Linked DNA regions of Homo sapiens: regions 2 and 3 are each linked to region 1. The links are contacts of gene promoters, found by promoter capture Hi-C in blood cells and fetal thymus (Javierre and others, 2016). All regions are on one chromosome and are shown on one strand. Each heading gives the region's core, a stretch centred on a gene start or on the middle of the fragment in contact. The rest is flanking DNA. Distances are from core to core; before and after follow the strand shown.

What was found. The method cuts DNA at HindIII sites, captures the fragments that hold promoters and counts their contacts. A CHiCAGO score of 5 or more calls a contact.
Region 2: a fragment that was not itself captured here is called in contact with the fragment with the promoter of CFAP54 in region 1 in 1 of 17 cell types (naive CD4 T cells); the score reaches 5.9 in naive CD4 T cells.
Region 3: a fragment that was not itself captured here is called in contact with the fragment with the promoter of CFAP54 in region 1 in 1 of 17 cell types (M2 macrophages); the score reaches 5.0 in M2 macrophages.

What each region holds. Positions count from the first base shown.
Region 1 is chr12:96,488,293-96,490,992 of GRCh38, reverse strand. It overlaps CFAP54 (cilia and flagella associated protein 54), which reads right to left and starts at 1,416. Exons shown (of 68, transcript NM_001306084.2): 1 at 1,067-1,416. The coding sequence starts at 1,383. RefSeq lists an enhancer at 1,168-1,377 and a silencer at 1,268-1,562. The HindIII fragment of the contact is 3,410 bases long and covers 1-1,971 here.
Region 2 is chr12:96,184,453-96,187,152 of GRCh38, reverse strand. No RefSeq gene overlaps it. Among named protein-coding and RNA genes, the nearest start is that of ELK3, 8.6 kb to the left of the region's middle. The HindIII fragment of the contact is 2,888 bases long and covers 1-2,700 here.
Region 3 is chr12:96,163,943-96,166,642 of GRCh38, reverse strand. It overlaps LINC02452 (long intergenic non-protein coding RNA 2452), which reads left to right. Exons shown (of 3, transcript XR_945239.3): 2 at 1,212-1,336. Among named protein-coding and RNA genes, the nearest start is that of LINC02452, 7.2 kb to the left of the region's middle. RefSeq lists a silencer at 58-352. The HindIII fragment of the contact is 2,795 bases long and covers 1-2,678 here.

The DNA.
Region 1 (2,700 bases), core at 167-2,666:
TCAAAAAAAAAAGATAAAATTGCAACATTCATCTCATATCCTCCAACACCATTCCCTGTTCTATTTTTCTCCCTAGCAGTCATCTCCTTGTAAGATTATTTACTTACATATTTGTTTAGTGGTTGTTTATACCCACAAAAACATATGCTCTATAAGGACATGGATTCTTATATGTTTTGTTAACTTGATGTTTTCCTAGTTCCTTGAACAGCACTTGATATACAGTATGTGCTCAATAAATAGTTGTTATATGCATAAATAAAAAATATTTTATTTTATTTATTTATTATTATTATTTTTTGAGAAGGAGTCTTGCTCTGTCGCCCAGGCTGGAGTGTAGTGGCGCGATCCCAGCTCACTGCAACCTCTGCCTCCCGGGTTCAAGCAATTCTCCTGCCTCAGCCTCCTGAGTAGCTGGGAGTACAGGCATGTGCCACCATGCCCAGCTAATTTTCGTATTTTGTATTCATGTATAAATTTTTGGCTCGCTCAAGGGTTTCACAACTTTCCATGTTATGAGTATATAAATTTGTATATGGAGAAAAAGGAATAACTTCGAGGTAGCTCAGGTTCATGAAGCTAGCTCTTGATACAATGAAGTATGTCATCCTGTGAACATGTGCACTTTAATTCCTTCTTATATTGCTATTAGGATTACAGTGACTTTTTCTTAATTTTGCTATTCATTCTGCGCAACTGTTTGCCTTTTTGGGAGTTCTATCACCATGTTATTACTGCAAACTGCGAACTCTTTTTAAGGTTCTTTCCTGCTTATGTTACCATCTTTCTTTTCTGGTCAAATAACAAATGGTGAGTTATGAAACATTTCTGTGTAGATTTTTATTTTGACCTGAGCAGGAAGCCAAGATATAACAGCTCCCAGGAATTAAGGATTGTTAAGAGCGACGAGTCTCCACTTCTTAAACTTTGTCTCTCCTGGGCCCTTCAGCCAGCCCCTGCGTCCGCAACGCTGAACCATCTCTGGGGCCACCACCTGCATCCTCCAGCCCTTTCCAGGGGTCCCTCCTCTGGCCGGCGCCCTCCCCAGTGCCCCGCCAGCGCTTACCAACGCCGGCGGAATTCGTGCTTCTCTTCCTCCGTGGTGGCTAAAGCCTTCTTTTTCCTCATAAAGCCTAACAACTCCTGGATCTCCTTCTCACAAGAGGCCAGGAGCGGGTTTTTCGCGTCCAGCGGCCCATAAAACACGGCTAGGGGCAATGAGTCCTCGGGGCAGGTCCACTGAAGCAGCGAGCTCCGGGAGCTCCCCTTCGACTCTGGGGGCGACCTCGAAGTCGCGGTGGAGGTCGGCGGCAGTTCTGGCAGAGACCCCGAGGTGGTAGAGTCGTCTGACGGAGAGCTCGAGGGGGAGCCCTGCGCCGCCATATTGACGCGCCCCGGCCCGCCTGGAGTATGTGTACACGCGGTTGCCTGGCGACGGTCTCGTGGCAACCGGGCATCCCGCGCGCATTCCGAGAAACACAGCGGCCCCTGGAGGGCAGAGCGAGAAAGAACCAGGTCCAGAAAACAATGATGCTCCTGAGGGCGTTGCCTGGTTGTGCGCTGGCACCGCTGTATGAAATGCGAACAGAGAATGTTCTGAGCAGAGCGCTGGCGAATATTAGAGCCAAAAATTTAAGGTCACAAATCCAGACTATACTCTTTATCCATGTTGGCCACTTAATAACGATAATGATGACGACCATGACCATTAACGTGTGTCAGGCATTAAGCATTTGAAACATGTACTTTCATTTATCTCATTTAATCATCATAACTACTTTACAACTTAGGATACTATTAGTATATCCATCTCACAGTTTAGGAAACCAAAGCTCAAGGAGGTTAAGTCATTTGACAAAAGTCAGCGTACAACCGTAGTGTCAGCGACCAGGTCCTCCAAAGGGAACTTGTGACTCCAAAGCCTGTGCTCAAAATGAATAGGCTGTATTGATCACTCCCCAAAACAAAGCTTATTAATCAAATTGAAATTAGAGAAATATCTGACAAGCAGTTTAAGAATCAAATACAGTTGGCCCTCCAAATCTCGGGTTCTTCATCTGTGGATTCAAGCAACTCCAGATTGTAAATATTCAGAACAAAATTAGAAATAACAATACAACAATAAAAATAACACAAAATACAACTATTTACATGGCATTTATACTGTATTAGGTATTACTAGTTATCTAGAGATGATTTAAAACATCCTGAAGGATGTGCACAAATTATATGCAAATACTACAGCATTTCATATCAGAGGCTTGAGCATCCACAGATTTTGGTATCTGCGGGTGTCATGGAACTAGTCCCCCACAGATAGCCAGGGAGTACTGAATATGCAGCTGATCCATTCTCTTTCCTCTATTTGTACCTTGAGGTCTGTAACTGTGGACATGATGTCTATGCCTCTAATAATTATGATTACATCTATTTATGCACATTCCAGCCTTACTTTAATTATCTCTGTATTCTAAATTAATGTGCATTTTGCTCAACCTTAACCATAGGACATTAATACATACTAGTGGCCTGAAGTGTTAACTCTCAAAATACTTTGCATTTTAAACAGGGCTTTTAGGAGACTTTACTTCTGATGGGGAAACTACAGACCTCCAGGGAAATACTTGGGGAGTTTATTCTTAGCCTGTGTATTATAGGCAAAAGTCAGAGTTAAATTTATTAAAGTATGAGTATTGAGAA
Region 2 (2,700 bases), core at 77-2,576, 300 kb after region 1:
TGTCACAACTCCTGAAACGGTGAGACATTGCCATAGTTTTCAGGATGAATACAAATGAGAATGTGTACCAACCAGCTGCCGGTCAAAATCACTTCGTACATGCTATAAATCTGACATGCTCAGAAAGGTACAAATGGTCTTTGGCCCTTTCCCTTTCAATGATGCCCAGAGTTCCTGTGCAAACAACTGTTTTGGATTTTAAACGTGTAGATCAAGAAAATCAAGTATTTTATCTTTTGTTTTGATCCTAGAAGGTGTTGGACAAGGCTTTGTAGGAAACTGCAGTCTTTTTTTTTTTTAAATCGGGCAGCATCAGACAGTTACAGGAAGCTCAGGAAATACTGTGAAGGGCAGGATGTCACGCTGTGCATTGATGGCAAAGATGGGGAAGAGGTGGTCGGGCCTTTCAAGACCAACTCCTTAAGGGTGGAAAAAGCTAAGTCATTGGAGATTCATGATCACATTTTTTAAAAATCCCTAAAAATAATTTGAGAGCAGCAAAGGGAAGACCAGGACCATGACACTAAGTGCAAGGATGATTGTAGAGTAGGGTCTTCAGAACAAGTAGAAGCTCCAAGGCACAAGCGTAAAATTCCTTCTCCTCAAGAATCTATTTGCATGGGTTGATAGGCTTTGTCTGGGAAGGCTGGAGCCAAAGGGGAGTTGCGGTAAAAAATCAAGAAAAAGAAGCTGTTTCCTGTGAAACTTCAGGAAATTCTGAACACAGGCATGTCTTCCCTTTGGGGGCCAGCACAGAGATGAAGAGGGCATTTTCTCCACATTGGCATGGAACCTGATGGTCCCTGCAGGCATGAGGGGGGGCCCCAAATGAGGAAGCCAGAAAGCACAGAATATGAACAAACATGTTCTGGAAATGTAGGATTCCCCAGCCCCCTGACCCCTTATTCCCTCCTGTCTCTGTCTGGAGGCATTTCCAGTAGGAACGGCAGAGGTAGGTTCTCTAACTGGCAAGTTTAGGAGAAGAAACTGGCATGCTTGGCTCAGCTTCCTCCTCTCTCCTCTTTCGGAGCCAGCTTGTCTCAGGAACACATGGTCTCAGTTCTCCCTGCTAGGGGGATGCCTGCAGTCTTTTGGCTTAGCCTAGGTAGGCAAACTCGGTCTTGGGGGCAAAATGACAAACGAACCCATTGTGCCTGCAGTTGGAAGGGTATCATCCAATTTAGCTTTTGTCTCATAAGACTATCATTTTGATCTCCATCAGTCTGGCTCCTGGGTATACCTCTCAATTGATTCTGAAATTGGACAGGGAAGAGGGAAACCATTTATTGGGCTCCTAAAACCCCAGCCAGGTCGTGTGAGACCCCACCTTGGCACTCTTGAGAAACAACTGGAGAAGAGTGTTGATGGTAAGGAGTGGGTATTGAATTTCCATATGAGCAGGGAGAGATTGAACAATGTCCTAACTGGGGCATCTGTGGTCTTAGGGCCTCATGTGTACCCACAGGCCGATTTAGCTACCAATGTAACCCAAGATGGGAGAGAAGAGAAACGCTGTTCTGCAGGCTGTTTTTGGGAGCCATACATGGTGGTTTGGAGGTAAAATCTGTCATGCTATTGAATTCGCTTTAAATTGAGTGACTTCTGTAGGCCACTGTGAGGGTACTGAGGTTAGAAGCAGGTACTGGGGTGAAAGGAAAAGAAGCATCCTCTCCCTGGAAGCATCTCTTCCTGGAAGCATCATGACACTGGATACTCTTAGGAGGGTGAGACTTGGTAATCCACTCATACCCCTTTCTCTCCACAGCAATACACATTTCTTGAATAAATGCCATGGATACTTAAGGAGAAAAAATAATTATTAGAAAATACATATAATGCCACAGTCTAAAAAAGTGCCATTAAATAGATTAAGCCATTGATCCCTGATATTATTAATCCCGTTTTATGTTTGATACAAGTGACGAACAGAGATGTTAAGAGATTTATGGGCTCAAGGTCACACGGTTAACAAGTGATGGAGTTGGAACTAAAATCCAGGTTTTCTGATCTAAATCCAAATCCTTTCCGCTATTCTTTGCTGTATGACAATAGAGGACCACAAGAAAATAAAGAGAAGCACTCAGAAAGCAGAGTCAGGGAAACTGGATCGGACTCCTGGTTCTACCATGAACTTGAATCACCTGAGATTCAGCCTCTTTGCCTATAAAACTGTGTGCTGAGGGCTTGGACTAGAGTGTGTCTAAGACTCTGACATGCTGAGAAGGTCCTGGGTGGTTCTCTGCTTTAGGTCGCTGTCTTAGTCTGTTGGGGCTGCTATCACAAAATACCATAAACTGGGTGGCTTAATTCAACACCAGACATTTGTTTCTTATGGTTCTGGAGTCTAGGAAGTCCAAGATCAAGGTGCTGACAGACTTGGTGTCTGGTGGAGGCCCAATTTCTGGTTCATAGATGGCACCTTCCTGCTGTGTCCTCACACGGCAGAAGGAGTGAGGGGTCTAGGCCCCTTTCCTAAGGTACTAACCCCATTCATGAGGGCTTTATTCTCATAACCTAATCACCCCTGAAAACCTCTCTCCCAATACCATCACCTTGGGGGTTAGAATTTCAACATATGAATTTTTGGGGAACACAAACATTCAGATGCCAGTGTGTTCAGAGTTGGTTCCTACCAGTGGGTTCGTGGTCTCGCTGACTTCAAGAATGAAGCTGCGGACCTTCGCAGTGAGTGTTATAGCT
Region 3 (2,700 bases), core at 32-2,531, 320 kb after region 1:
AAGATATCCCCTAAAAATCTAGCACAGTCCACTCAGAACTCCATCCTCTGATGGGCTGGGGAAGATCCTTAGACTTATGAGCTATTTTGAGGGGGGTAGGGGGTACTTTAATTTCCCATAAGGGCAAGTGTCTAGGAAATCTGTCTACTAACTGTAACTGTTTGCTCCTGAAATGTGTGATTGGCCCCATCTGAGAGGTGACGGATGCTCCTTTTAGTGCCTGGCAGTCCCCATTACAGCGAGTGTGGAAGTGACTTCTGTGATCCCTAGCCAATGTGAAGCCTTTCAGTCAGGAAGAAGAGTGGAGAGAAACTTCTTACATTTCAAAGTTTGCCCTTGAGAAGGCCTTTTCCCTCACGCCCCTCTTCCCAAAACCAGGGAATCTGATAACATTTTTCTATAATTTTTTTTTTGTCACCTATCTATGTAACCAGAGGCAGAAAGGAACGACTTGGTTTAAAACACAAGGCCGAGGCATAAGGTGGCGTGAGTCCCCAAAGCTGCTCCCTGGTTTCATCTAGGCCCTCTTCTTTCAGATTTAGTGATGGAATTCTCCCTGTTAGAGCCGTGGTTTTCATAACCCTAAAACCAGAGCTGTGCGGCCTCAGGGTGGGCAGCCGAGATTCCTGTGGCAGCTTCTTCTGAGCCCTGGGGGGTGGGAGGACAGACGGCAAGCGGGGTGGAAAGGGACAACTCCAGCCCTCACTAGTTACTTGGGGGTGGAGTGAGGATACATTTCTTGTGTCCCTTATGGTTGAGTTTCTCAAAGCTCATCTCTGGCTGAAACCAGGGAGCCGAACCAAACCCCTGCCTCGTGGGAAGCAATGATGTAGCCACTTTCAGCTTTTGTTCAAATGCTCCTGAAAGGGAGCCGCCCTATCACACACGGAACTTCAGGAAAGCTCATGCCCTCCCCAGAAATGACAAATGGAAAAGACAGAACAGTCTCCGGCCAGGCCAGGATACAGTCTCTGGAAAGAGATTGTTTTTGTCTCCATTGCCATAGAAAACACATCCTTTTAACTTAATAAGTAGGGAAACAGCATAATCACACGCGCTGGAGGTTACCAAGGTGAACAGAATCCAAGATTAAAATCTGCCAGTCCAGGGGTGCATGGAAGCATGGGAGGCCCAAAGAGGAAATCTAGTTTGCTGTTGGTAAATTTTTTTGGATGCTGTTTATGTTTGAACTTTTCTCTGTTTTCCTGTAGAAACTTCCGTACCCTCTTCCTGTGTCCCTACAAAAGCCTGGACAATGCAGTCCCAGCCCTGCTGCAGAACATGGGCAGGCCCCACCTTCCTCCTTCCTGCAGGGATATCCTTTCCTATAGAAGAGGTAAGAATGTAAGGTTCATGTGAAAATGTGATTATATTCCTTATCTCAGTCATTTCATGATTTGCTGTTTGGCGACAATAAGTCAGCCTGGCCACATTCACAATAGAGGTGGCCCCGGTTCCTAGTTTTGGCTCGTGCTGTTTTCTCAGCTGAAGAGGGCAACCGGCTGTTAAAAACGCTGCCTGTTTTCCAGGATCTTATCAGGAGTTCATGTCTAAGGCCAGAAAGAGAAGGGAGGGCTCCATTTTTTTTCCTCTCTCCTCATTGTTTCCAACTGAATTGGCAGGAAATAGGAGTCCTCCACCTGTCCCTCTCGGGAGCAAAATTGATTCGATTCCATTTTTCAGATGTATCCGCTACCACCAGAAATTGGGGACATTTCCGCTCACCCCAAAATGAATGCGTTCCTGGATTGACACAAATGACATCTTTCAGAATTGCAAATTAATCACATTTAAATGGGGATGTTTGGGACGGGGGATTGGTGTCAATTGCCCCACAGAATCTCAGGTTTGCTTTCTCTTCTCATTCACCCTTTTGTGAAGTGCCTTTTAGGGCTGTGGGGCTTGACTGACTCCAACAAGTTTGTGTGAATGTGGTGTGTGTGTGTGTGTGTAGTGTGTGTGAATGTGGTGTGTGTGTGTGTGAATGTGGTGTGTGTGTGTTTAGTGTGTGTGAATGCGGTGCATGTGTGTAGTGTGTGTGGATGTGCTGTGTGTGTGTAGTGTGTGTGAATGTGGTGTGTGTGTGTAGTGTGTGTGAATGTGGTGTGTGTGTGTAGTGTGTGTGAATGCGGTGTGTGTAGTGTGTGTGAATGTGGTGTGTGTGTAGTGTGTGTGAATGTGGTGTGTGTGTGTGTAGTGTGTGTGAATGTGGTGTGTGTGTGAATGTGGTGTGTGTGTGTGGTGTGTGTGAATGCGGTGTGTGTGTGTAGTGTGTGTGAATGTGGTGTGTGTGTGTGTGTGTGTAGTGTGTGTGAATGTGGTGTGTGTTTGTGTGTAGTGTGTGTAGTTTGCATGTACCATCAATGGCGTGGACACTCAGAGAACTGAAATCCTTCGCTCAGGGTCTCACATAAATCAAAACAGTTCCCTTTCACAGCTGCCTTAGAGCATATGTTTCAGGCAGGGTAATACAGGATCCAGACAGAAGCTAAGTCCATTTCTCAAGACTCATAGTGGGCTTGTGGTTGACCTAGTATTTTCCACTTAACCCAGTTCAGCCAATTCAGCCAATTTGAACAAAAATCAGGGTCTGTCTAGATGCTTTATTTCATCTAAAAACAACCCCAGATGATTCTATTTTGAGGGGATCAATCATTTTACTACCTAGAGAAAAAGCTTAAACATAGGAATTACATAAAC